7 separate regions of the Homo sapiens genome follow, and all the other regions are linked to region 2. Evidence: promoter capture Hi-C in 16 types of primary human blood cells and fetal thymus (Javierre and others, 2016). All regions are on one chromosome and are shown on one strand. Each heading gives the region's core, a stretch centred on a gene start or on the middle of the fragment in contact. The rest is flanking DNA. Distances are from core to core; before and after follow the strand shown.

The links. The method cuts DNA at HindIII sites, captures the fragments that hold promoters and counts their contacts. A CHiCAGO score of 5 or more calls a contact.
Region 1: a contact is called between a fragment that was not itself captured here and the fragment with the promoter of PFDN5 in region 2, in 7 of 17 cell types (erythroblasts, activated CD4 T cells, megakaryocytes and 4 more). The highest score is 14.0, in erythroblasts.
Region 3: a fragment that was not itself captured here is called in contact with the fragment with the promoter of PFDN5 in region 2 in 10 of 17 cell types (endothelial precursors, megakaryocytes, fetal thymus and 7 more); the score reaches 9.2 in endothelial precursors.
Region 4: the fragment with the promoter of AMHR2 here is called in contact with the fragment with the promoter of PFDN5 in region 2 in 10 of 17 cell types (naive B cells, total B cells, erythroblasts and 7 more); the score reaches 9.0 in naive B cells.
Region 5: a fragment that was not itself captured here is called in contact with the fragment with the promoter of PFDN5 in region 2 in 1 of 17 cell types (erythroblasts); the score reaches 6.5 in erythroblasts.
Region 6: a contact is called between the fragment with the promoter of TNS2 here and the fragment with the promoter of PFDN5 in region 2, in 9 of 17 cell types (total CD8 T cells, naive B cells, activated CD4 T cells and 6 more). The highest score is 8.2, in total CD8 T cells.
Region 7: a contact is called between a fragment that was not itself captured here and the fragment with the promoter of PFDN5 in region 2, in 6 of 17 cell types (erythroblasts, total B cells, megakaryocytes and 3 more). The highest score is 7.7, in erythroblasts.

The regions. Positions count from the first base shown.
Region 1 is chr12:53,474,787-53,478,635 of GRCh38, forward strand. The region is part of intron 14 of PCBP2 (poly(rC) binding protein 2); the gene reads left to right. Among named protein-coding and RNA genes, the nearest start is that of PCBP2-OT1, 12 kb to the left of the region's middle. The HindIII fragment of the contact is 550 bases long and covers 1,061-1,610 here.
Region 2 is chr12:53,293,133-53,297,095 of GRCh38, forward strand. It overlaps PFDN5 (prefoldin subunit 5), which reads left to right and starts at 2,410. Exons shown (of 6, transcript NM_002624.4): 1 at 2,410-2,507; 2 at 2,707-2,809; 3 at 3,112-3,143. The coding sequence starts at 2,436. It overlaps ESPL1 (extra spindle pole bodies like 1, separase), which reads left to right. Exons shown (of 31, transcript NM_012291.5): 31 at 141-506. The coding sequence ends at 342. RefSeq lists enhancers at 2,093-2,632, 2,118-3,317. The HindIII fragment of the contact is 3,517 bases long and covers 1,854-3,963 here.
Region 3 is chr12:53,071,921-53,075,646 of GRCh38, forward strand. SPRYD3 (SPRY domain containing 3) reads right to left here. Exons shown (of 11, transcript NM_032840.3): 4 at 3,175-3,299; 5 at 2,729-2,864; 6 at 1,366-1,551. Among named protein-coding and RNA genes, the nearest start is that of SPRYD3, 5.6 kb to the right of the region's middle. RefSeq lists enhancers at 1-462, 345-639, 463-963. The HindIII fragment of the contact is 2,730 bases long and covers 770-3,499 here.
Region 4 is chr12:53,421,311-53,425,104 of GRCh38, forward strand. AMHR2 (anti-Mullerian hormone receptor type 2) reads left to right here and starts at 2,545. Exons shown (of 11, transcript NM_020547.3): 1 at 2,545-2,673; 2 at 2,978-3,160; 3 at 3,399-3,590. The coding sequence starts at 2,625. RefSeq lists an enhancer at 1-429 and a cis regulatory region at 114-632. The HindIII fragment of the contact is 5,088 bases long and covers 349-3,794 here.
Region 5 is chr12:53,526,290-53,530,446 of GRCh38, forward strand. All of the region lies in intron 9 of ATF7-NPFF (ATF7-NPFF readthrough), which reads right to left. All of the region lies in intron 9 of ATF7 (activating transcription factor 7), which reads right to left. Among named protein-coding and RNA genes, the nearest start is that of ATF7-AS1, 14 kb to the left of the region's middle. The HindIII fragment of the contact is 5,319 bases long and covers 1-3,936 here.
Region 6 is chr12:53,048,693-53,052,381 of GRCh38, forward strand. It overlaps TNS2 (tensin 2), which reads left to right and starts at 1,373. Exons shown (of 29, transcript NM_170754.4): 1 at 1,373-1,568; 2 at 3,163-3,271. The coding sequence starts at 1,494. The region is part of intron 2 of TNS2-AS1 (TNS2 antisense RNA 1); the gene reads right to left. RefSeq lists an enhancer at 1-377. The HindIII fragment of the contact is 14,276 bases long and covers 1-3,689 here.
Region 7 is chr12:53,509,555-53,513,431 of GRCh38, forward strand. All of the region lies in intron 12 of ATF7-NPFF (ATF7-NPFF readthrough), which reads right to left. It overlaps ATF7 (activating transcription factor 7), which reads right to left. Exons shown (of 12, transcript NM_006856.3): 12 at 2,500-3,877. Among named protein-coding and RNA genes, the nearest start is that of ATF7-AS1, 2.5 kb to the right of the region's middle. The HindIII fragment of the contact is 2,618 bases long and covers 419-3,036 here.

The DNA of each region.
Region 1 (3,849 bases), core at 86-2,585, 180 kb after region 2:
GTTTTTGTCCTGTACTTACTCCCTTTTGTGGTCTTCCCTTCCACCCACCCTTTTTTTTTGTTCCTTTTTTCCTCTGTTACAGTTTAGAAAACGCTAAACCCTCCTCCCAGGCAGCCTCCGTCACGATCCCTGATCACCTCAGCATCAACCTCTCTCAACCCTCCACCCCTTCTTCTTCTTCCTCCTCCACCACCACCCCCTCGCTCGCCACAGCGGGGACCTCCGACGCACCCTCCAGCCTCCCCAACCCTCTTCCGACCGCCCCTTGTGTCTCCAGTCTGCTTGGCATGAAACCCATCCCTCTCCTGGCTCTAAATGTTGTGTCTGCTGCTAAGGGTACCGGGGCTTCAGCTACCACCACCACCACCTCTGCCGTGCCATGTGTAACTAACAAACTGAAAGGCGAGAAACAGAGATTCTCTCCCTACTGATTGCATACCTTGAGGCACCTCCTCCAGTATTATTTTGTTCATTTTGTTTTCCTTTGTTAACATTGGTGAGAATGAAACTATTGTGAGCTTGTTACCGTTTCCTTTTTACTACTTTGGGGGATAACTGGGTGGGGGTGGGGGAGTGGTAACCCTTGTTTAGGTTTAGGCCATTTCAGCTGAGTGCCTGTTTCAGGGTCTGACTTGAATTCTTTATCTAGAGCCACAGTTTTCTCTTCTTTCTTGTTTGTTACTTTTCTTTGTAGCTTTATTCTGCCTTGCAATATAACAATGTGTTAGGCTCTGTGTTAATGAATAAAAGCTGCTTCGTTAACTTTTTTTTTTTTTTTTAAGAATTATTTAATGGTTAAGCTATCAGCAGGCCTTCTTGGCCATATTTGTGTTTCTAGCTGTAATAAAGTTGGCGCAGTAAGAACCTTAGTACACTGTGTGCTGTGAAGGGTAAAGGGTTGGGGGCTTGTGACTTGTGGCTATTCAGCTAGGAAGCCTGTATAACTGACATGGGCTTTTTGAATCCCAAGTGAATTTTATAGTCGTTTGTCAATATTTCCACAAAGAGATAACGAGTCTGTGGCAGTTTAGATCCTGAAGGTCCTCTGTAATTGGCAACAAGCTTCACTAGTGAGGAAGTTTATCTGACTTCTCAGATGGCCTTACCTTGCCAGCAGCAGCTAACAAGGTGTTCATCCCAGGATTCCTCTGGTGAATGGTTACCATGAGGATCTCTTCCAAGTCATACATTCAAAGAACATACTTCTTTACCCAGAATGAAGGGGAGGGGCAAAGTGGGATAAGTCTAATAAAATTAGGCAGCTTCTGTCTGCATTCCTCTGAATTAGCATTATGCCTCTTTCTGTGACATTAGGTATATCTCAGCCAACCCGTGACATTATCCACAACTTGACATGATGCCATCCACTAGTCCTAAACCAACTCTGTCAACCAAGTTTCTTTACCCTTTTTTCTATTCCTGGCCGTATCCTTTCTGCTCCCCACCAGCACTATCAGGAGTAGGAAGTGACATGCTTAGATTTGGAAGGAACCTTAAGGATCAACTAATCTGTAACACATTGATCCCCTCATTTTACAGATTAAAAAATAGAGGCCCTAAGATAATTTAAATTCATAGGTTATGAGTGACTAGCCAGGACTAACAACTTAAGCTTTACTTTTACTCAATCGTACTAACCTCCCTGAAATCTTGTTCATTTTCTTATACTAAGATGGGCACAGGCCTCTCATAAAACAGTAGAAATGTTCTTAGTATGGTGGTATAAGGCCTCTGATAGCCTTCCATTCAACGAGAGTACACGTTGCCACAGTGCTGAAAGTGTAATGCTCTTCCCAGGGCATTAGAGAACTCAGTGTAGAGATAGTTTCCCTGATGACCTTTTCCCAGCATCACCATTGGCTGACAAAAAAAAAAAAGCTGTTAGTATTCCAATATATTATCTCATTCTTTGATGTTATTTTGGCCCCTCCATCCCAGATTGGGCCTGTGAAGAAGTGTTACACGTCTCAAGTATGCATAAAGGATTAGATGGCCAAACCTGTCCAGTAAGGAGTTTTATTTAGTTGCTCCTTTATCATGTGGTCCAGCTCTCTCCCTTGGTAAGCTTGCTCCTCCTGTAGTTAGGACTTAATCATGCTGATACCATCTCCCCCCAGGGATGTGGTTTTATCTAGTTCTTGATTGGAAGGCCTCTTAACCTAATGGCTATTCCCCAAGGAAGGATTCCACATGTTTAAGGGTCTAGCTACCATCACTACCTCCAAAGGGCCTCAGTTTTAAATTTTTTTAAACCCTAGAGCTCCCCCATGTGGTCTTTTATCCTAGAGTACCTGACTCAGTATTTCATAGCATCCCCTTCTCCCTGCGTCACCTCCCCCACCCCAGCAAATCCCCATTCGGGCTTGATACACATTCAGAACATTTCTTTCAGAGCTCTGGTGGGGCCAGAGTGCTACCACCAATTTTTATGAACTTAAATTTTCAGGTCCTAGATCTAATGGTATCTAGCAGTTCCTTTCTTAGACCTTCAGTTCTTACTGAACCCTTTAATCCAGGGCTATTGTTTACCTTTCCTTAGATCATTGTGTTTTGAAATTGGCACGAATCTACCCCCCTTTTAAGAACTAAATATCCCCTGCCGGGCACGGTGGCTCACGCCTGTAATCCCAGCACTTTGGGAGGCCGAGGCGGGTGGATCACGAGGTCAGGAGATCAAGACCATCCTGGCTAACACAGTGAAACCCCGACTCTACTAAAAACATAAAAAAATTAGCTGGGCATGGTGGTGGGCGCCTGTAGTCCCAGCAACTCGGGAGGCTGAGGCAGGAGAATGGCGTGAACCTGGGAGGCGGAGCTTGCAGTGAGCCGAGACCGCGCCACTGTACTCCAGCCTGGGTGACAAAGCAAGACTCTGTCTCAAAAAAAAAAAAAAAAAAAAAAAAAAAAACCCTAAATATTCCCTTAATACTGAGGTGGAGAAACCATTTCTGACTAAAAGTAAATAGTTTGTAGTCGAAGGACTTTGCAGTTTTTTGGCCCTTGCTTTTCTACCCAGCTTTTGGCTTTGCATTGTTGTGGAAGGGATACAGATGGTGAATTACCAATCATGTTTTCATGACCACATATCACAAATATTTTATGCTAATCAGTTTAAAATCTTATGAAATAACTTATCTTATGAACTGAAATGAAGTCTTATACATTTGGTTCTATTCAAAATGAGGGCAAAGTCTTGCTGCCTACCTACCTACCAGTGAAGCATACTGAGTACTTAAATACTTTTCCCTGAAAGCCCTAAATTGGATTCCAGGACCTCAAATGACTATCTCTTTGAAACAGAAAGGCATTGTAGCCAGGTATGTTTAGATGGAGGATATGGCTTGACAAGATCTAGGAGCTTGTAGAGTGAGCTACAGAGTTGAAACAAATTATTTTGTCTGCTACTTTTAAGTCCTGAAAACTTTTTAAAGAACTTTTTAAGGCCGGGTGTGGTGGCTCATGCCTAATCCTAGCACTTTGGGAGGCCAAGACAAGTGGATCACCTGAGGTCAGAAGTTTGAGACCAGCCTGGCCAACATGGTGAAACTCTGTCTCTACTGAAAATACAAAAATTAGCTGGGCATGGTGACAGCTGCCTGGAATTGCAGCTACTCAGGAGGCTGAGGCAGGAGAATCGCTAGAACACGGGAGGCAGGGGTTGCAGTGAGTTGAGATTGCGCCATTGCACTCCAGCCTGGGTGAAACTCAGTCTCAAAAAAATAAATAAATAAATAAGGCCAGGCGCGGTGGCTCATGCCTGTAATCCCAGCACATTGGGAGGCAGAGGCAGGCAGATCACCTGAGGTCAGGAGTTTAAGACCTGCCTGGGAAACCTGTTGAAGCCCCGTC
Region 2 (3,963 bases), core at 1,160-3,659:
TCTTCTCTTGTAACCAAGGGCCAAAGGAGTTTCTCATTGGTTCAATCCTCTCCACTCACCCACCCCCACCACCAATGGTGTTTTCCTATGTATTCTGTTTTAGAGCCCTTACTTTGTATTTCCTCCTTTTCTTTTCCCAGCCCCTTGTTTCTGGGTAATCTCTGGGATGTGACTGACCGCGACATTGACCGCTACACGGAAGCTCTGCTGCAAGGCTGGCTTGGAGCAGGCCCAGGGGCCCCCCTTCTCTACTATGTAAACCAGGCCCGCCAAGCTCCCCGACTCAAGTATCTTATTGGGGCTGCACCTATAGCCTATGGCTTGCCTGTCTCTCTGCGGTAACCCCATGGAGCTGTCTTATTGATGCTAGAAGCCTCATAACTGTTCTACCTCCAAGGTTAGATTTAATCCTTAGGATAACTCTTTTAAAGTGATTTTCCCCAGTGTTTTATATGAAACATTTCCTTTTGATTTAACCTCAGTATAATAAAGATACATCATTTAAACCCTGTTTTGCGTAGTTTATCTGAGAACATTTAAAGACACGGCATGACTGCCCCCTTCCTACTATGTGGTACTGTAAGCTGACAGGAACAGGTTACAGCAGATCAAGTTTGAGTGCTTGGGGAAGAAAGGCAAAGACACAGGACAAAGCCTGCTGGGCCTGGCTGGGCCTCAGCAGACAAATCTGGAGGAGAAAGGGGCATCAAAATGCTAAGTAGAGACAGGCCCAAGGAAGGGTAGTGATAGACCCTTTGAGAGTGTTTTGGCCAGGTACCATCCGTCCGTCCTGTCTTCCTGCCGCAGGTATCTTTGGAGTGGCACTAGTGTTTTGTTTTTTGTTTTTGTTTTTTTTTGAGACAGAGTCTTGCTCTGTTGCCCATGCTGGAGTGCAGTGGCGCAATCTCGGCTCACTGCAACCTCTGCCTGCTGGGTTCAAGCGATTCTCCTGCCTCAGCCTCCTGAGTAGCTGGAACTACAGGCACATGCCGCCACGTCCCACTAATTTTTGCATTTTTAGTAGAGACAGGGTTTCACCATATTGGCCAGGCTGGTCTCGAACTCCTGACCTTGTGATCCACCCTCCTCAGCCTCCCAAAGTGCTGGGATTACAGGCGTGAGCCACCGCGCCCAGCCATGGCACTAGTTTTAATGCCTCAGTTGCCCTGCCTGCCTCCTAAGTAGATGTTAAAGGCTACTGCTGTCTGCCCATGTACACCTGTTACACTTACCAATGTGTAACTTTAGCAGTAGAGTCTGTGGATCTGTGGAGTTCTAGTGTGGTTTTTCTCTCCAATTGTTAAGCTCAAGGGAAGCAAGTATCTTACACTCTCACGTATCCCTCACATACAGCACATGGTAAAACCTTTTTTTTTTTGAGACAGAGTCTAGCTCTGTTGCTAGTGTGCACAATCACAGCCTACTGCAGCCTCAACTCTCCAGCTCAAGCGATCCTCCCACCTCAGCCTCCCATGTAGCTGGGACTACAGGCGTGTGCCACCAGCCCGGCTAATTTTTGTATTTTTTGTGGAGACGGGGTGTCGCCGTGTTGCCCAAGCTGGTCTCAAACTCCTGGGCTCAAGCAATCTGTCCTTCTCGGCCTCCCAAAGTGCTGGGATTGCAGGCGTGAGCCACCATGCCCGGCCAAAATATTTTATTGATTAATTTGTGCTGTACTTGGTTGACAATGGCGCTTCCTTGCTGTTCTCCCACCACCTCACTGGCAACGGGTGATAAACCCTTTTTCAGATCCTACTACGTGTCAGCCTACTTCCGGCTGGGGGAAGATGGTTATAGCGAGAGGGGAAGAATTGGTTCAGTGATGAGAACATGGTTGGTTCCTGCCTTCGACAAGCTTTCAATCTAATGCCTGTTTTTTTCCAAGGACAATTCAGAACGGTCTGACAAGGGATTTTTTTTTTTTTCCTGCCTTTCGGCCTCAGAGGCCATCTGGGAAAAAGAGTTTAGAATTTCCCTGCCATTTCCATGCCGTGCTGGGAGGAACATTTGAAATCGGGCCTGGCGGGGTACCAGCAGGCAGCAATAGCAAGCGGGGTGGAGAGGAGCAGGGCCAGGCCCCCGAGCCGTCGCCATGGCAATCCAGCCTGCTTTCCAGTAGCTTATACCACCCACGTGGAGTAGCATACACTACTTTGTAATATCGTGGTTGTGTCGTGAGAACTTTAAGATTTTGCAGTTCCTTGTAGGCAGGAGTCCTGTTTGCTGCTACTTTACAATACTAGGCTTAAGACATTTTATGAAATGAACTCACACAACAGTCTCTGAGAGGCTCAAGCCCCTCCTTCCCTTCCGGGACGGAGGATCATAGAGCTGTCTGGCGCAGCGAGGCCTCCCGGCGCCACCGAGACGCGCAGAGGACGGCTAGAGCGTTGCTCGCCGAGAGACTTCCTCTTCGTTAAGTCGGCCTTCCCAACATGGCGCAGTCTATTAACATCACGGAGCTGAATCTGCCGCAGCTAGAAATGCTCAAGAACCAGCTGGACCAGGTGGGGACGGGCCCCAGAGGCACCTCTTTCCTGCTCTACATCCCCCTTGCCCACGCGTACTTCTCGCGCCCGGTTCCAAGTTGGCAGCCTACCTTTCCCAGGCGAAACCTCTATCCGATCCCAGGACCTGCCCCCTCCCCGGCCGCGCTCCTTTCTCCCCTTAGTCCTCTCATTGACCCGCTATCCCGGTCCTCTGTAGGAAGTGGAGTTCTTGTCCACGTCCATTGCTCAGCTCAAAGTGGTACAGACCAAGTATGTGGAAGCCAAGGACTGTCTGAACGTGCTGAACAAGAGCAACGAGGGTATGGGGTAGGCGGGTGAGGGTAACCTAAAGTGGCGAACCTGCTTCTCTCGTCCCACCTCCTAACCCAGTTTTTCTTACCTGAAACGAGAAAATCCATTACATATCGTATACCGCTTCATGAACCCTTTGCATGTTGCCTGCCTAGAATTGAAAAGTACAGGACATTCCTCTGCTCCTATTGCCCCTGTTTCCGTTCTTTTCACACTGTCTGTGGGTGCTGTGCCCTGTTGGAACTCTCTTTAACGTCTTACGTTGGAGCCGCTAACCTTCCCCAGGTGTTTGTCTTCATTGCTTTCACAGGGAAAGAATTACTCGTCCCACTGACGAGTTCTGTATCCTTTCCACAGGAACGGCTACCTGCTGCCTTCTCCCTTTCTCCTTCACTCCCCCAAAAAGCGGGGAGGGGGATTGTTTTGATTACTTCAGATTACCCTCTCCTCACAATGATTTTGAGGATACCCTTTTTTTTTTTCTTTCTTTTTTGAGACGGAATTTCGCTCTGTCGCCCAGGCTGGAGCGCAATGGTGAGATCTTGGCTTACTGCAACCTCCGCCTCCCGAGTTCAAGAGATTCTTCTGCCTCAGTCTCCCGAGTAGCTGGGACTTTAGGTACGCGCCACCACGACCGGCTAATTTTTGTATTAATAGTAGAGTTGGGGGTTTCACCATATTGGCCAGGCTAGTCTCGAACTCCTGACCTCGTGATCCGCCTGCCTCGGCCTCCCAAAGTGCTAGGATTACATTACAGGCGTGAGCCACTGCCCCCGGCCAAGAATACTCTTATTACACACTTTGTAGCTCTTTTATCTGACTTCACACCAACATCCAGCTAATGTCTTGTGAACACCAAGGAGTATGTATAGTTGAGATGTAATATTTCCCTTTGCTGTTTGAGAACATTAATATGGAGATAAAGCTGGTGGTTTACACTTTGCTAATATCTTAGAAGATACAGGCAATAGACAAAAATAGGAGGATATAGAAACAGGGAGCTTGGCTCTGTTAATCTTCAACTTCAGCTTAATTGTGGCTCATTTCTAAACTGTCACTAAGAAACCTGGATTGTGTTCACTTGTTCAGTGTTTTATTTGAATGAGCAAGTTATGGCAGTAGGGCATCTTTAATCTGTAGTCTCAGAACTGACAGGCTAAAA
Region 3 (3,726 bases), core at 885-3,384, 220 kb before region 2:
CACTCTTAAATAAGTGGCTGAAGGTGTTGGGGGGAGGGTGGGGAGGAAGGAAGGCTATTTATAAATGTCTACAGGATTCTGCATCAATTAGAAAAGATTGCCTGGGAGGAGCTGAGAGCAGAGTGGGGACAGGTCCAGGCAGAGAAAGGATGCCAGGAAAAAACTCTTGAGGAGAGGTCAGAGATGAGAGCTGGAACATCGCCCTGGCGCAGCCCCAAGTTTAACTCTGTAGATGTTGTCAGAATGATGGTAGATTGAGGGGAAAAAGGAAAGACATGAGAGTCACGGAGTGGGCATCTGAGGCCTCTTAGCTCTCGGTCGCTGCAGCCTGGGACCCTGATGCCAGACGGGGGTGCAGAGTGTCAGAAGCAGCAGGAGGGCACACTTCCTGTCATTTTCCCTGAGTTCCACTCCACCAGGGGGAGGCCTGGCTCCTAATCCGCTCCCACCCCCCACTGCTTCTGTTTTGTTATCAAAGACTGAGTTGAAAACAGCCTGGGTTGGGGTGGAAAGGCCAGAGGGTGGAGAAAAAGGCCAGGCCAGGAGCAAGGGGGTAGGAGAGGGACAATTCGAAGTGGGAGGGCTGAGCAGCCCACTAGAGGTCAGGGCCAGATCCCGGACTTGGCGTCCATTCACTCCCAATGCAGCACAGTGTATTGAGGCAGACAGGAAGAATTTTCCTTTCTCAAGGTTCATGAATTTTCCAACAAAACTTAAAATCCGGGGAGGAAGAATTCCCCTTTCTCAAGCTCCACACGCTTCCCAACGAAGCTTAAAATCCATACTAAAGCAGGTATGAGGAAAAGATAAATGAAGCAAGTTTGGAGGTGTAAGGATGCTCACTGAATCTTTATCTGCCTCCATTCTAATCCTCTATCAAATGCAGGGATAAGACAATAGAAACTGACATTGACACTTCCTCAAAAAAGATGGCTAAGAACCTTCCACCACATGTGTGGACTTCTGACCACACCTGCCCCACAACACTTTGAATGAAAAGCCTGGGCCAGGCATTTTGCCTCCAGATCAACCCCCAGCCCCTCAAAGGCAGTTGTGCAGGGCTGTAGAAGACACCAGAAGCTGAAGGAACCAAAAAAGGCAAAGCAGAACTACTTGTTCCCAGGGTCAAACTGCGAACCTGAGTTCCCTGAAGAGGAGGAAGTGAAGAAAAGAGAACATGTGCTAAAGAAAACACAGATCTGGACTCAAGGACTCATGTCAAGAGCCTAGGCTATCTTGCCAAACCCCACACGGACACTGTCCCGACTCCCCATTCCCAGCAATTCAGACATGACCATGTGCCCACAGGTGTTCTGCCCAGCCTCCTCCGACCCAGCCCCTCCCACCCTCCCACCCGCTACTTACAGTCCCACAGACTCTGACATCATGTAGCCGGCCCCATTCATCCTCGTAACTGTCCACCATCATGACGCTGTCGTCCTCACGGCCCAGCTCAGCGTTGAGGTGCAGCCGCACCTCCTCACCCAGGGAGTGCATGCCCACTGCTGGGAACAGTCCATCTGGGGACATGGGCATGATGGTAGAGCCCACCTGCAGTGGGGGGAAAGACGGAGCTGCCACCCGGCCTGCTTTTCCATAGCTCACCTAATTCTCACAAGGGTACTTTTAAGATGATGCAACCAGCCGGGCGTGGTGGCTCACGCCTGTAATCCCAGCACTTTGGGAGGCCGAGGTGGGCGGATCACAAGGTCAGGAGATTGAAACCATCCTGGCTAACACGGTGAAACCCCGTCTCTACTAAAAATACAAAAAATTAGCCGGGCGTGGTGGCGGGCGCCTGTAGTCCCAGCTACTCGGGAGGCTGAGGCAGGAGAATGGCGTGAACCCGGGAGGCGGAGCTTGCAGTGAGCCGAGATGGTGCCACTGCACTCCAGCCTGGGGGACAGAGCGAGACTCCATTTCAAAAAAAAAAAAAAAAAGATGATGCAACCAATAATTATCACACACACTGACAGATTAAAAAAAAAAAAGCAACCCAGAGGTGCAGAAAAGTTTCCAAATGTGCTAAGTACTCCTGGCTAAGCAAGGTATGTACAGAGCTAGAAGACAAACACAAGTCTCCTGACTTGCTGCCAAATACTTTCAGTACGTGTGCTGGACAGGAGAGTGCCGAGGCGCAGATGCTAAGGCAGCAGGACCCCTTGGCCAAGGCCTGAGAAACCAATTTCCCAATGTGGGAGATGGAGTTGGAGAGAAGGGAGAGAGCTGTGTGTCTCTCTCTACTATTGGCTCCTGTCCCATCTCCTCACCACGCCTAGTCTCTCTACGAACAGGATAGTGAAAGAGACGTGAAACAAGGAAAACAGGACACAGAAAGGACATATCCCCAAAAGTGCTCAAGTCAAAACCCAAAGAGGACCTCCAGCTTACATGGCCAGGCCATAATCTTCCCCTCTCTTTTATCTGCTCAAAACCTTCCCCCAAATCACCCAATTCTGTTCCCCACAATTCCTGCTCATCCTCTGCTCCACTAACTTGCCTCTCTCTGCCTGTCATCTGGGCAATGTCCCAGCTTCCTCTGGCCATGGGAAGTATCTTCTCCTACACGCAAGAGACTTCAGGAGAATCTGAGGCTGGACTGGAGGAGATGGGAACTCAGTGCAAGGGTCCCTGGGCAAGCCCCAGCCAGCAGACTCTTCCTAATCACTCCCCACAAATCCTTGGGCAGATTTCAGCCACGTAAATCCCACCACTATTTCCCACTCACCCGCTTCCCATTTTTGGTGAAGAAGATCTGGGCGGTCTGCACATCAAAGGACACAGGCTCAATGCCACAGCCAATCCGGTCCCCGGAGTTGCACTTTGACCCAAACTGGCGGCCCTTGGCTCGGCCATTGTACAGCCTACAGACAGAGTAGTACAGACACAGGACCCGAGCCTGGCCTCCCAACTTCTCCCCAGCACTGACAGCAGAGGCCTCATCCTCATCTTGCTGCTCCTGGTCATTCTGTGATGGTACCCACTTACGTCCTGGCGTGAGCATCACCCTCCTCTAGTCTGTAAGCCTTCAAGGGTGCTGCCAGGCCACTTCCCTGTCCTGACCAGAAAAGTCTATGAAACACCCAATGGGAAAAGCCAGCCCAAGGTAGTTCTTCAGATCTAAGATTCCCAAATTCATAGGAAAAGGGCCGGGTTGCACAGGAGCCAACTCACTTGCCATCATCAGCATGGTAGGCTACAGAGTCAGGCAACCAGCCAGGCTGGTGATCCAAGCTGTAGTACTGAGGGACCAGCCCCACAGCAATGGTGCCCCGGACTCCACTGTCCACAATAGACACCTGGAGAGAAGAAAGCAGGGCACAGTCAGCAGGGCTGGGAAATGGGATGAATTGCTGGGGGTGGGGGAAGGGGACTTAGAGATTAAAGGGCGCTGAGGCTCAAAAAGAAAAAGGACATGGGAATCAGGAAAAAAGATAAGATACTCAGAGGGGGCAATTGGTGAGAGTGGGTGCCTATTTCACTTAGAAAATTACTCCAAAGCTTTGGAGAAAGATAGGACTCACGTCCCTATATGGTGGGTTTGGGTTAGGGGACATGAGTCAAGTCTGGGATATGGGTCAAAGTCTACCTAGCTAAGGGGTAGGAGAGCAGAAGGGACAGGGTGACAGGTTTCCAGGGCACCTATCTCTCAGATGAGGGGCCATGCTATCCTGCACCTATTTCCCAGCCAACAGGACAGCCCTGATGGAAAATTAAAAGGCCCAG
Region 4 (3,794 bases), core at 1,295-3,794, 130 kb after region 2:
GCGAGACTCCGTCTCAAAAAAAAAAAAAAAAAAAAATGTCGGTACTCAGACTGTCCTCCCTGGTCTAAGCCAGATCATTCCAAGAAAGGGTTTCCAGGAAGCCACTAGGGGGACAGAAAGCTAGGGAAACAGAGAACAAGTCCCCTCTGACTCTTAATTCTCAAGGAGCCAGTGGCTCACAGGTGTGGAAGTGATTACCTATTTCTGTTGTTTCTTACTCTGGGAAAGAGTCTGGTGGAGTTGGACTCCTCTGTCTCTACTGCAGAACAAGCCATAGCCCTCTCCTCCCAACTCCATGCTGAAACTCTCCACATCCTGTGCCCGCCCTTCACATTTTATAGTCCCTGAAGCTTAGTAAATGTAGGAGGTATACTATATGTATTAGTCATCAGAGGAGGTACTTTCTGCCCTCTCACCGCAGCAGGGAATTTCTCCTCTGCTGACCTCTGGTGGTGATAGTTTGAACTGTACCCTCCCTTTTTAGTTAGTGGCCTGTTGGCAGGTAATGATGCATATTTTCTCAACAATTTAAATTCAAATGTCCAAGTATAGTATTAAGTGGTAATTTTTTTTCATTGTTGAATTTTGTACGTCTTTCAGGCAGTATAGTGTAATACAAAGAATAGAGCCGGCCGGGTGCGGTGGCTCACGCCTGCAATCCCAGCACTTTGGGCGGCCGAGGCGGAGGGATCACGAGGTTAAGAGATCGACCCCTTCGGCCGGGCGCAGTGGCTCACGCCTGTAATCTCAGCACTTTGAGAGGCCGAGGCGGGCGGATCACGAGGTCAGGAGATCAAGACCATCCTGGCTAACACGGTGAAAACCCGTCTCTACTAAAAATACAAAAAATTAGCCGGGCGTGGTGGCGGCCGCCTGTAGTCCCAGCTGCTCGGGAGGCTGAGGCAGGAGAATGGCGTTAACCCGGGAGGCAGAGCTTGCAGTGAGCCGAGATCGCGCTACTGCACTCCAGCCTGGGCGACAGAGCAAGACTCCATCTCAAAAAAAAAAAAAAAAAAAAAAAGATCGACCCCATCCTGGCCAACATGGTGAAACTCCGTCTCTACTAAAAGTACAAAAATAATAATAAAAATAAGACTAGAACCTGGACTTTGGAGTCAGACCTGCCTAAGTTCAAATTCCAGCTCTGCTATTTCCTAGCTGAATGACTTTGGGCGACTTACGTAAGTTCAGTTTTCTTACCTATAAAATGGAAATAATAAAAATAATAGGCCAGGCACAGTGGCTCACACTTGTAATCCCAGCACTTTGGGAGGCCAAGGCGGGCAGATCACGAGGTCACGAGATCGAGACTATCCTGGCCAACATGGTGAAACCCTGTCTCTACTAAAAATACAAAAATTAGCTGGACATGGTGGTGCGTGCCTGTAATCCCAGCTACTCGGGAGGCTGAGGCAGGAGAATCGCTTGAACCAGGGAGTCAGAGGTTGCAGTGAGCCAAGATGGCACCACTGCACTCTAGCCTGGTGACAGAGCGACACTCGGTCTCAAAAAATAAATAAATAAAATAATAATAATAAATATTTCAGGGGAGAATTAGATGAGATGATTGTAAAATGCATAGCCCTAGCTGTGCCCCAGCACATAGTAGGTGCTTGATAAGAAATTTGTTACCTCCTTAATAATGGGTATTTGTTCAGCCTGTGAACCAATGTGTTTTTTTTTTTTAAGTAAAATCCACGGCTAGGCATGGTGGCTCACGCCTATAATCCCAGCACTTTGGGAGGCCGAGGCGGGCAAATCACCTGAGGTAAGGAGTTCGAGACTAGCCTGGCTGACATGGTGAAACCCCGTCTCTACTAAAAATACAAAAATTAGCCAGGTGTGGTGGCAGGCGCCTGTAATCCCAGCTACTCAGGAGGCTGAGGCAGGAGAATAGCTTGAACCCAGGAGGCGGAGGTTGCAGTGAGCTGCGATCGTGCCACTGCACTCCAGCCTGGGGGAGAAGAGCGAGACTCCGTCTCAAAAAAAAAAAAAAAAAAATCCACATAGCAAAATTTACCATTGTTACTGTTTTCAATGTGTTTTTTAAAAATTCAGGTAAGTTTTGTATACTTTCTGATTCTTAAGTTGGAAAACAAGGTAACCTCTAATATGGGCTGTGAGGCCTTCCTCTGCCCAAGCAGTTGCAGATATGAACCCTGAATATAAAGAGATCTTAGGCTAGAAAGGATCTTGGGCAGAGCTGAATGGCTCTAAGCATTTGACCTCACATTGGTTTCCTCCTGAGAAGAGTCAACAGAGTCCAGCATCTTCTTCCAAGGTCAGGGAAGGGCAAAGATTTGAAATTAGGCATCACTGGGTTCTCAGCTGGGCCTCCAAGTTCCCCTCCTCTCACTATGCAGAGCAAAGAGGAGGTTGCAGAAGAGAAGAGGATATGAGATTGGTTCTCTGCTCCTCCCTTTCTTTCCCTGCTTTCCCCACACCCACCCTCTCCCCCACAGCAGCCTTCTCCCCCACAGAGGCTGGGATAGGATGAGGGGGGCGGAGTTGGGGACTGAGGGATCAGAAGCCCCAGGATGCCCTGTATCTGAAGAAAGATTTGGCCAGGGGCAGCTGTGCTGGCTTATGCTCTTCTCCTTCTGCTGCTGCCATCCTCCAGCAAGATGCTAGGGTCTTTGGGGCTTTGGGCATTACTTCCCACAGCTGTGGAAGGTAAGTGTCTACAGGGAGGGGAAGGGTCTCTCCATCCATCCAGCAAGGGAAAGGGGCGCTTGAAGCAAGAGCCACCCCTTTGGAAGAGTGGTGAGTGGGCTGGGTGAGTAAGGGTGAAGGATAGAGCCATGTGTCCCCATGGCAGGGCTCAGGTTCCAGGCCTCTGCTGACCCTGCTTCCTCCTGTGGCTTTACCATACTGACGCTGGGATGTGGAACATGTTTTGTCTATTCTTTTGGCCAGTTTTTTGCCTCTGCATTCACTCCCACCTTGAATCTTTTCCTTTCCCCACCCTGGGCCTCAGCACCCCCAAACAGGCGAACCTGTGTGTTCTTTGAGGCCCCTGGAGTGCGGGGAAGCACAAAGACACTGGGAGAGCTGCTAGATACAGGCACAGAGCTCCCCAGAGCTATCCGCTGCCTCTACAGCCGCTGCTGCTTTGGGATCTGGAACCTGACCCAAGACCGGGCACAGGTGGAAATGCAAGGTGAATGGCAAAGTATATGGCAGGTGATGGCTAGGGTGGGAGACAGACACATCCTGGGGTGTGGGTGGCAACCAAGGGGGAAGGGGAGAAATAGAACATCTGGTGGGAAAGAAAAGCCCATGAGAGCTGGAAGGGACGCCTCTGATAGAGAAGGGATTTACCCTCTGTTTCCACACCCCATTGTGCTTTCTTCCTTGCCCCCCCTTTCTCTCCTCTTCCCCTAATCCCATCCCATCAGGATGCCGAGACAGTGATGAGCCAGGCTGTGAGTCCCTCCACTGTGACCCAAGTCCCCGAGCCCACCCCAGCCCTGGCTCCACTCTCTTCACCTGCTCCTGTGGCACTGACTTCTGCAATGCCAATTACAGCCATCTGCCTCCTCCAGGGAGCCCTGGGACTCCTGGCTCCCAGGGTCCCCAGGCTGCCCCAGGTAGCCACCCAAGGGTACTGAAGCCTGATGGGGGCTGGGGCCCAGGTTAGGATGAGAGGTGGAACCAGGGCCAGTTCTCACCCTACTCCCGCCCCACGCTTTCCTCCTCCTGGCCTTGGGAAGTTGGTTGCCCTGGTGACTGGGAGATAAGGGGTCTTGTGACCAGGGTGGGGGTGGGTTGAGACGCAAGCTCTCAGGAGGGGA
Region 5 (4,157 bases), core at 27-2,526, 230 kb after region 2:
CTACCCCTGAGACAGCAAGACCAAGCCCTCCTCCTCCTCCTCCTCCTCCTCAATGCGAAGATGATGAGGAGGATGAAGACTTTTATGATACTCCACTTCTATTTTAATGAATAGTAAATATATTGTCTCTTCCTTATGATTTTCTTAATATTTTCTTTTCTCTAGCATCCTTTATTGTAGGAATACAGTAGATAATACATATAACATACAAAATGTGTGTTAAAACAACTCTATGTTATTAGGATGGCTTCTGGTCATCCTAATACTTTGGGATGGCTTCTGGTAATATTAGGATGGCTTCTGGTAATCCCAATACTTTGGGAGGCCGAGGCAGGTGGATCACCTGAGGTCAGGAGTTCGAGACCAGCCTGGCCAACATGGCAAAACCCCGTCTCTACTAAAAATACAAAAATTAGCCAGGTGTGGTGGCAGGCGCCTGTAATCCCAGCTACTTGGGAGGCTGAGATAGAAGAATTGCTTGAACCTGGCAGGGGGAGGTTGCAGTGAGCTGAGATTGCACCACTCTACTCCAGCCTGGGCGACAGAGCAACACTCGGTCTCTAAAAAAGTAAAAAATAAAAAAGTTGGGCCGGGCGCCGTGGCTCACGCCTGTAATCCCAGCACTTTGGGAGGCCAAGGCGGGTGGATCACCTGAGGTCAGAAGTTCAAGACCAGCCTGGCCAACATGGTGAAACCCCGTCTCTACTAAAAATACAAAAATTAGCTGGGCATGGTGGCGCATGCCTGTAATTCCAGCTACTCGGGAGGCTGAGGCAGGAGAATCGGTTGAACCTGGGAGGTGGAGGTTGCAGTGAGCCGAGATTGCGCCACTGCACTCCAGCCTGGGCAACAGAGCGAGACCCTGTCTCAAAAAAATAAAATAAAATAAAAAAATTAAAAAGTTACATGTGAGGCCAGGCGCAGTGGCTTATGCCTGTAATCCCAGCACTTTGGGAGGCCGAGGTTGGGAGGATCACTGGAGCCCAGGAGTTAGAGACCAGTCTGGGCAACATAGTGAGATCCGTTTCTACAAATAAATAAAATTAGCTGGGCATGGTGATGCATTCCTGTCATTCCAGCTTCTTAGGAGGCTCTAGTGGGAGGATCATTTGAGCCCAGAAGGTTGAGGCTGCAAGTGAGCCATGACTGTCCCATTGCACTCCAGCCTGGGCAACAGAGCAAGAACCTGACTCAAAAACAAATAAAAAAAAGATGCTGGGCATGGTGGTTCATGCCTGTAATCCCAACACTTTGGGAGGCCGAGGCAGGTGGTCACTTGAGGCCATGAGTTCAAGACTAGCCTGGCCAACATGGTGAAATCCCACCTCTACTAAAAATATAAAAATCAGCTGGGCGTGGTGGTGCACACCTGTAATCCTGGCTACTTGGGAGGTGGAGGCATGGCTTAGACCAGGATGGAGGTTGCAGTGAGCCAAGATCACACCACTGCACTCCAGCCAGAGTGACAGAGTGAGACTCTGACAAAAAAAAAAGAATCTTGTACTCTACTCTAGGCCCTACTGAATTATATTCTCCATTAATATAGATAATTAAGAAATGATTTTTTTTTGAGATGGAGTCTTGCTGTGTCACCCAGGCTGGAGTGCAGTGGTGCAATCTTGGCTCACTGTAACCTCCACCTCCCAGGTTCAAGCAATTCTCCTGCCTCAGTCTCCTGAGTAGCTGGGACTACAGGCGCCTGCCACCATGCCTGGCTAATTTTTTATATTTTTAGTAGAGACAGGGTTTCACCGTGTTAGCCAGGATGGTCTTGATCTCCTAACCTTGGGATCCACCCGCCTCAGCCTCCCAAAGTGCTGGGATTACAGATGTGAGCCACCCTGCCCGGCCAAGAAATAATTTTTTAAAATTCAGACTAATATTATCTCTCCCAAAATAAAAAAATGGAGAAGAAATTTCCAACTCAATTTAATGAACTAGAGGCCTTGGTTCACTGTTTCTCATTGTATAAGAAATTTACAGTAATTCTCCTGAGAATTTCGGCTTCCTCTTTATCTTTAGCTGACTGGAGCACATGTAAAGATTAGTCCTTTATGGCCAGGTGCAGTAGTTCATGCCTGTAATCCCAGCACTTTGGGAGGCCAAGGCGGGTGGATTGCCGGACCTCAGGAGTTTGAGACCAGCCTGGGCAACACGGTGAAACCCCGTCTCTACTAAAATACAAAAAATTGGCTGGGTGTGGTGGCTCACGCCTGTAATCCCAGCACTTTGGGAGGCTGAGGCGAGTGGATCACCTGAGGTCAGGAGTTCGAGACCAGCCTGGCCAACATGGTGAAACCCCGTCTCTACTGAAAATACAAAAATTAGCTGGGCATGATAGTGGTTGCCTGTAATCCCAGCTACTCAGGAGGCTGAGGCAGGAAAATCGCTTGAACCAGGGAGGCGGAGGTTGCAGTGAGCCGAGATCGTGCCACTGCACTCTAGCCTGGGTGACAGAGCGAGACTCCATCTTAAAAAAAAAAGAAAAGAAAAGAAAACAAAAGAAAAGAAAAAATTAGTTCTTTAGGAGAATAGGGGAAAGGAAAGGTTCCTATTCTGTCATAGGCATTTCAGTAAGTCATGCAGGGAATGGAGGTGAAAGACTAGGCCAAGAGAAACGGGAAGAACGACAAGGAAAGGAATCAGTGTTGATTAAAAAGGAAGCTGGGGCTGGGCATGGTGGCTAGGGCCTATAATCGCAGCACTTTGGGAGGCTGAGGCGGGAGGACTGCTTGAGTCCAGGAGTATGAGACTAGCCTGGGCAACATGGCGAGTCTCCATCTCTTTTAAAATTATATATATATAAAAAGAGGAAGCTGGACATGCTTTACCATGTTCAGGACTGGCTTCAGGTACAGTAACTCATGACCAGCCTGGGCAACATAGTGAGACCCTGTCTCTAATATTATTTATTTAGTTATTTATTTAAGACGGAGTTTCACTCTTGTTGCCCAGGCTGGAGTGCAATGGTGCGATCTCGGCTCACCGCAACCTCCGCCTCCCGGGTTCAAGCGATTCTCATGCCTCGGCCTCCTGAGTAGCTGGGATTACAGGCGTGCGCCACCACGCCTGGCTAATTTTTGTATTTTTTTTAGTAGAGATGGGGTTTCACCATGTTGGTCAGTCTGGTCTCGAACTCCTGACCTTGTGATCCGCCCACCTCGGCCTCCCAAAGTGCTGGGATTACAGGCGTGAGCCACCACGCCTGGCTAATTTTTTTTGTATTTTTAGTAGAGACGGGTTTCACCATATTGGTCAGGCTGGTCTCGAACTCTTGACCTGCCTTGGCCTCCCAAAGTGCTGGGACTACAGCTGTGAGCTACCGCACCCGGCCCTCTACTATTATTTATAATATATATATATATACACACACACATATATATATACACACATATATATAAATACATATATATATACACATACACACACACACACACACACACACATATATATATGTTTTTTTTTTTTTGAGATGGAGTCTCGCTCTGTAGCCCAGGCTGGAGTGCAGTGGCACGATCTCGGCTCACTGCAGCCTCCACCTCCCAGGCTCAAGCAATTCTTCTGCCTCGGCCTCTTGAATAGCTGGGATTACAGGCGTGCGCCACCACGCCTGGCTAATCTTTGTATTTTTTTTAGTAGAGATGGGGTTTCACCATGTTGGTCAGTCTGGTCTCGAACTCCTGACCTTGTGATCCGCCCACCTCGGCCTCCCAAAGTGCTGGGATTACAGGTGTGAGCCACTGAACCTGGCCTATTTATAATACAAATTTTAAAAATAAACAAATAAAACTAAAAAGGAAGCTATGTCATTTCCCCAAGAGAGAAGGCAGCACAACTCAGGCAAGGCGGCTACTGCTTTGCCATCTTCAGGACTGGCTTCAGTGGGGTTACAGGAGGGTAGGCAGCCTTAGCTTCCAACAGGAAAACTCAAATGAAAGCTTTTGTTGTTGGCCAAGCTTTACCGTAGCATATGGCCATGAAATGTTTGGACATGTGGCAATAACTGATGAAGCAGGTGGTGACATCAGGAAAAGAGGGGCCAGGCAAAGGGTATAATTCTAGAAACTAATCTCAGGTGCTGTCACCTGTTCAGTGCAGATGATATGAAAACTGAGGACTATACAGTTTCCAAAGAATCTTGTTAAAACTGAGATCTC
Region 6 (3,689 bases), core at 123-2,622, 250 kb before region 2:
GGAAAATTGGAGCTTCCAGGGAGAGGTGTCAGGCTAGGCCCAATCCAGTCAGGTCCTCGCAAGGGTCTCAAGTGGGCACCCACAGCAGGCCTCACCCCAGAGAATGCAGGATTCTTCATCCCAGGGAACCCATCCTGGTGGATATGAAGGAGCAGGAAGCAAGTAGAAGGGACTCCGTGGGAGAAGCCAGGGCTGGGGGAGTTGCCTGAGTACTGGGACATTCAATAAATACCATGCAAATGAGAGGGGCACATTTGCACATTCTTTCAAGTGACAGCTATAGCCTGTCCCAGGGGCTGCTGTCCACAGCTTGGGGCTGAAGACTCCCAGGCCATTAACCCCTTAGCTTTTAGGAAGATTACTCCCCCTTTTTCAAGGCCCCATCCACCTCCCTCCCTTGACTCCCAGGACGGGAAGTTGGCCATGTTCCCAGGAGGGAGGCCGGAGGCCCATGGATGGGGGTGGAGTATGTGTTGGGAGGGGGGACCTCCTGTCCAGTCCTCAGGCCCTGGGACAGCTGCTGAGGAAGGAGAGCAGACCCAGGAGAGCCATGAAGGTAGTACTCAGGCTTCGGGGTTGCCGCGGGGGGAGGGTGCAGCCCTTGGGTAGAGAGCCCAAGTTGCAGGGCTGGAAAGAGGGCTAGGGATCTGTGAGATCATGTCTGAAACAAAGCCAGGGAATGGGTGAGTGGGGGGCACTGTGTCAGGAGCAGAAACCTGGGGGCTTTCAGGAGAAGGGCCTCATATGCCTTAGGCTGTGGCAGGAGAATGGATTACTCCCCAAACCTGAGCAAAGCAGTCTTGTGGCTGGAACTTGGCCTTGCAAGGTGTATTGAGGGTAAAGGTGGGCGGTGCATGCTTTCCTTTTCCTACTTCATAACGAGTGAAACTGAGACAGGAAGGGGGCCCCCAGTCCCATTTTTACCTGACTCTCAGGACACACTCGGGATCCTGGGCCTGCCTGCTGGTAGTAGTTCCCAGCTCCACTCCCTCCCCAGCGGAAGTCCCTCGAGAGCTTGAGAGTTCAGGCTGGAGCCTGGCTGGGACACACTGTTCCCCACTTGCCCTTTAGCCCTGCCCCGAGACCAGAATTCTCACCCGGCCCCACCGGGGGTGGGGGCAGAATCTCAAGACCATGGATCCCTGCAGATCCCTGGAGAGTGTGGTGTCCCAGGTGTGGGACAACTCCAGAGTTGGGGGAGTAGGGGGAGCAAAAGATCACAGGCTGACACTCCCAGCAGGGTAGATCCTGGGAATCTGATCTCCTGGCCTCCCCCACATCCTCCCCCCTCCACTTCCTGGAGCAGCGACCTGCCCCCTTCCCGCCTGCACTTCCCTCCACTTCCAGGGCCGGGCTTCTCCTCACACCAGCCAGACAGCCTACCCTCCGCCCAGGGGAAGCGGCTGCCTCCGCCAGGCCGCTTCCAGGAAGCCCCGGGCCAGGCCCCAGCATTGTTCAGGCCCTGGGGCCAGCACCCCAGCCAGCCGAACACCATGAAGTCCAGCGGCCCTGTGGAGAGGCTGCTCAGAGCCCTGGGGAGGAGGGACAGCAGCCGGGCCGCAAGCAGGGTAGGAGTGCCCACCAGCTGGGCAAAAGAGGGGCAGGGGTGGAGGTGCGGGCAGTGGGGGAGGGGACCAGGAATCAGGCCAGGCCTTCTTCCCAATTTCAGCTTCCTCAGCCTTCTTCCCTGGCCCAGCATCCCCTCCGGAGTGGCCAGGGCTGTAGTGTGAGGGGATGTTTGGGTTAGAGTAGGTCCTGCTGTCTGTTTTGGCTCCTCTCACCTTCCCTGCTCTAGCCTGGGCCAACCCCAGGAGGTCCTGGCCCCCCAACATAAGCCCCAGGTGCCTCACTGCAGGACTTTGCCATGCGCTATCCAGGTATCCTCCAGCAGGCTCAGAGATCATCAGGCCCCTTCCCTGGCCCAGGGAAGTTTGAGGGAAATGGGGTGGCAGGGTGGAAAAAGAGAGAGGAGAGGGAGTCAGGAGTGCTTTGGAACTGGAGGTTTGCTTTCCACTGACAACATCCATATCTGCTGCTAATGCCAACATGCTCCCAAGTGTCTTAGTGGGTCCCACAAAGTTGATCCAGCCCAGAAGAGTTGCAGGGACAGTCAAGAAACCAGAGGTGCTGCCCACATCCCCATCACTCCCTTTCCCAACTTCCCAGCCTTGCCCCAAAAGCAGCAGCTCAGGACAACCTGAGATACTACTGTGATGGGTCCCCGGGAGGAGGACAGCAGGAGTCTGAACTCCAGAGGAGGGGGAATATGGGTAAAACAGAGAGATGGCAAGGAGACAAGCTGTCCCCAGACAGAGGATGGGAGGAGAGAACCCACAGTGGGAGGGGAAGGGACTGAGATAGGCCTGGGCCATAAGGGGGCATCCCAGGCTCCTGCCTCACTGCATCTCTGGGTCAGGAGGGGCTGAACAGGGAATCTGGTCCACTCCTTTCTCATTCAATGCGTGAATCCCAAGTGCCAGGGTGCAGGGGGTCGGGGGAGAACTCACAGCATCCAAAGCCAGCTAAACATCTCTCCCCAGTGACAGGCTTCTATCTGTTTCCCTCCAGCATGACCACCCCCATTACACAATTGCTGTCTGCTGCCTCAGTGCACAATGAGTAAACATGTTGTTCTGACCGTGGGGGAGGAGGGCATGTCAGCTGCCTGGAGCGTGGGGACAGCAGGAGCTAAAGGAGCAGGACTGGCTGAGGCCACTCCTGCCGGCTCAGTCTGGTGCTGCAGGACTGACATACAACACATATGTTTGGAACCTCCCTGCTCACTCTGCACACAGGTCTCCATGCGGGGAGGACAAGATGGGAAGAGTCAGGGAGTACCCTTACCACACCAGGGGGAAAGCCTGAGCATGGAGGCTTTTCCACAAGGGCATCACACACCAGGGCCATGTGAGGGGCCCAAGTGATCCCCTGGGGAGGAGCTGACCCAGCAAAGGTGACGCAAGGGGTCAGATTCCATGCACAGTTGAGGACAGGCCCCATGACCGCCCTGAAGCAGCTGTGGCCAAGTGCGTCCTACAAGTTTGAGGGCTTGATCTGGACGGAGAAAACCAGTGCAGTGCTAAGGCAAGGCTCCTGCCCAGTCCCGGAGATGGAGATGGGCCCACTGGGAACTCACACCTCTGTTTGTCCCTCCACCTTCAGCCTAGGAAAGCTGAGCCTCATAGCTTCCGGGAGAAGGTTTTCCGGAAGAAACCTCCAGTCTGTGCAGTATGTAAGGTGACCATCGATGGGACAGGCGTTTCGTGCAGAGGTGAGGCTCTCTGTCCTGTGACTCTGAGACCCTCCACCCAGTACCACTGTGTTGCACAACTCCAGCAGGCCAGCTCACACAATCTCAAATGTAATATGCTGCTCCTGGATTAGGCACAATGGCAGCTAAGAAGCAGCTGCCTCCCCCTTCAGATGGCCCTGGCTCCCCATGACAGACACCTCCCATAACCCAGGAGAGCCAGTACTCTCCATCACCTTCCCATCCTGACTTGTGACGGTAGTCTTCCTTCCCTCTCTTCCTCCTCACCTCCACCCACCCTGGAACGTTACCCCTGGCCTGGGCAGTAGTACCCCACTGCCACACTCTTCCCTCAAAACCTAGCCCTGCTCCTCTGCCCCAGCCAGCCCAGTCCAGGTGGGATCTTGGAAGTCCCAGGGTCTGGTTCCAGGGTCTGGGA
Region 7 (3,877 bases), core at 478-2,977, 220 kb after region 2:
GTGCAGTGGTGCGATCTCGGCTCACCGCAACCCCTCTGCCTCCCGGGTTCAGGCGATTCTCCTGCCTCAGCCTCCCAAGTAGCTGGGATTACAGGCACACACCACTATGCCCGGCTAATTTTTGTATTTTTAGTAGAGATGGGGTTTCACCATGTTGGCCAGGCTGGTCTTGAACTCCTGACCTCAAGCAATCCACCCACCTTGGCATCCCAAAGTGTTGGGATTACAGGCGTGAGCCACCGCACCTGGCCCACTCCATAGTCTTTTTTGCTCAAGGGGAAGCACCCCACTCTTTAAGGCAAGGCATCTAGGAACCAACTTATCCTTTAGACACGTAGATTAGAGCAGGTTTGGATCTGGATGCTCCAGATACCATATTTCTGTTAATGCGGACTAAGCCAGGGTAAACCTTTTCGTAAGCTTTGTCTCATGGTTGGTCCCAACCACAAAACCTGACATTCATCATCATGGTATCTTGTAGTTTTATCTTTTTTTTTTTTTTGAGACGGAGTTTTGCTCTTGTTGCCCAGGCTGGAGTGCAATGGCTTGATCTCGGCTCACCACAACATCTGCCTCCCAGGTTCAAGTGATTCTCCTGCCTCAACCTCCCGAGTAGCTGGGATTACAGGCATGCACCACCGCGCCTGGCTAGTTTTGTATTTTTAGTAGAGATGGGGTTTCTCCATGTTGGTCAGGCTGGTCTTGAACTCCCGACCTCAGGTGATCCGCCCGCCTGGGACTCCCAAAGTTTTGGGATTACAGGCATGAGCCATTGCACCCGGCCAGTTTACCACTTCTTAAAAGGGAGTATCAAGGCCACGGGGAGATGGCTTTTCTGTGGGCAGTAGCTGCTGCATCCCAGAATGATCCTTGTCTGCTCCTGTGTGACAGAGGTCCAGAGGAGCAGCGGTGTGAGGGTGGATGGGACACTGCAGAGCTGGTTCTGGGCCAGACAGAACTCAGTTGTAATCCTAGCTCTTGCACTTCACTGTGTGACTTGGCTAAACCTCAATTTATCATCAATAAAATGAAGTGACTACTCCTGTTATCACTAGGTGAACAGTAAAGCAATCTACCATTCCACGTAGCATAGGGCAGCCATTCCATGTTTACCATCCTGCTGCTTCTAGTATTTCTCTAAACATCAATTACAAGTGGCTCTGGGCTGAGCTGCATTCAGAAAGAGGCTGGTTTAGCTGGCTTCCTGTGTCCAGGATGGAGGTAACTGGTCTCCTTTGAAGTTGGAATGGGTTGATTCCTCTAATTTTGTAAACTGCCCAGTTTTCAGAGTGCAGCTTCAGTGGTGGGAACCTCCAAAACCTCATAATCTGGGCTTTGGTATTTGGCTTTCAGCAATTTCCTTTCTTACCCTTCTCTGGACACCCATGTGCTCCTGGCCACAACACAGTGAAGACCACCACTGCCTTTCCTGCTCTCCTCAGGAGGCACAGGCTATTTGTGTCAAGTGTCTACCAAACACCAGCCACAGATAGCTTCTTAAGTCATTTCTCTCCTACTGGGAAACTCCAGAGACACCTGCTATCTCTTTTGTCAAATTCTTCAGCCTGGCTCATTGTTCTCATTTGTGATGTTATTTATAAAGGAATATACAGATGCAATAAATTATCTGTGATTTCCCTACACCTCTTCCTGATTCCCACAGTCTCTGAGCATTACCTGTTTTTCTTGTGAACTCTTACCTGCTTTTTTTGAGATGGAGTTTCACTCTTGTTGCCCAGGCTGGAGTGCAACGGCACGATCTTAGCTTACTGCAACCTCTGCCTCCCAGGTTCAAGTGATTCTCCTGCCTCAGCCTCCTGAGTAGCTGGGATTACAGGCGCCCGCCACCAACACCTGGCTAATTTTTGTATTTTTAGTAGAGACGGGGTTTCTCCATGTTGGCCAGGCTGGTCTCAAACTCCTGACCTCAGGTGATCAACCCGCCTCAGCCTCCCAAAGTGCTGGGATTACAGGCATGAGCCACCATGCCCGGTTTTCTTACCTGCTTCTAAGTAAACTCTACCCCTCATTTCCAGACCAGCCTCCTCCTTACCATAGAAAGCTATACTTTCCGTCTTTGTCTGTGTGTGTGCTCCCTGGTCACAACAGCCACTTTTTAATGGTTGGGTGGGGGTTGGCAACAAAACACTGAAAAGTAAAAGGCCATTTGCCATCAGCAACTCTCCCACCCGCCATCCACATAAAGCACATACTAAGTTTCCTGTGAGTACTTGCTGCCAGGATGCCAAGGGCCCTTGTCTCCAAGGCAGTCCACAGGAGCTCTGCCCTGGGCCTTCTGTCATACTTTGTAATTTATAGAAATCATCCACTTTCTCTAGGCTGTATCTCCCATGTATAAAAACTAGAGACAAAAATCCCTGTTCCTTCTGTCCTAAGAAATGGGGGAGTGATGAAGATGACAGACATGAAAGGCCAGTGACCTCCCAGAAAAGGGGACAATGGGGGCTGTGGATAGAGGAGTGAAGCATCAGACATAACAGTGGTTCACTTGATAGTTTAATGTTATATTTGCAGCATAAATAAGGCACAATATATGCCAGGGCAAGGGAGGGAGGGAGAAGGCATAGCTGGGGGGATAACTGCTAAGTGGCAAGGGGGAAAGGAAGACAGTATGGTTAGGGAGAATAGAGCGAAGCCCCTGCCTCAGCCCAGTCCCAGGAGATTGTGAGAACCAGCTCACAGGGATCATGCTGAATCAGGTGGAGGGGAAAAGGGAAAAGACAGTTTTGTAACAAAAAACAAAATAGCCTGCAGCACTGCATCCTCCTACCTGTCAAAGGCCACCACTGGGCACTGGGGAGACCCAGACCGAGTTGAGTTCCTTGATAAGATGGAGAGGTGTTGCTACATGTCAAAAATATATAGATGAACAGAGATATAATCATAGATACACACTGCTTCCTTTTCAATAGATACTATGTTAGGATGTGGCAGCCTCCACTCTTGGGGCTGGAAGCTCATCTCCTCCCTGCCTGAAAGGTGTGTGTGTTGTAGGGGGAGGAATGGGACAGCTGAAGCTTGGCTGGTCCTTACTGTAACAGAGAACATGGAGTGACCAGTCTGCAAGGGAATATGGGACAACTCCTGTCCAGACCAATGCATGGTTTTAGGGATACGACTAAAATGAAGACAAATCTAGCTTTTGAGATCAGTGATATGATGGGGAAGACTTTAAAGGGAATGGAGGAAGAGACTGAAAGAAATGAAAGCATGTTAGTGCAAAGGCAAAAGATGTATTTGAAATATCCTCCACACCTGTAAAAATTTCCCAGCTTATCCCTAAGAAATGGTTCTCAACCTTTAGTGTGCATTAGAATCACTTGGAGTGCTTTTAAACCCTGCCCCCAGAGTCTGTGATTCAATAAGTCTGGGATGGGGCCTGAGAATGTGTATTTCTAACAAGTTCCCAGATTACTGTGGCACTGCCCTAAGGTAAAGTCAGTGAAACTATTGCTCATAGCCACTTCTTACAGCTAAAACATCACTCACCAGTAGCTACTGCTGGTGAGATAACTCTGTGCTATTAGCCCCCCATTAAAAAAATAAACCCTAGTAGCTATGATACAAACCTACATCTACAGAGGACATAAGCTCCTTTAACCTGCCCTACTCTCCCCAGCCTTTTCTCATTCTGGGGTAGGACTTTACCCCAAAGAGAGACAACACAGCTGATGCAGACGGTGGTAATGGTGGCCAGCAGCCACCTACGCTCATTCCTGCTAGGTAACCACCTTGGTATGGGGTGGGGGAATTTATGTCTGTATGCACATTTGTGTGTACAAACAGACACAGAGAAATCAGTCCTGTACTATGAGAGGGATGACTAGAGTTATGGGAGGCTGTAGTGGGGTGGAGG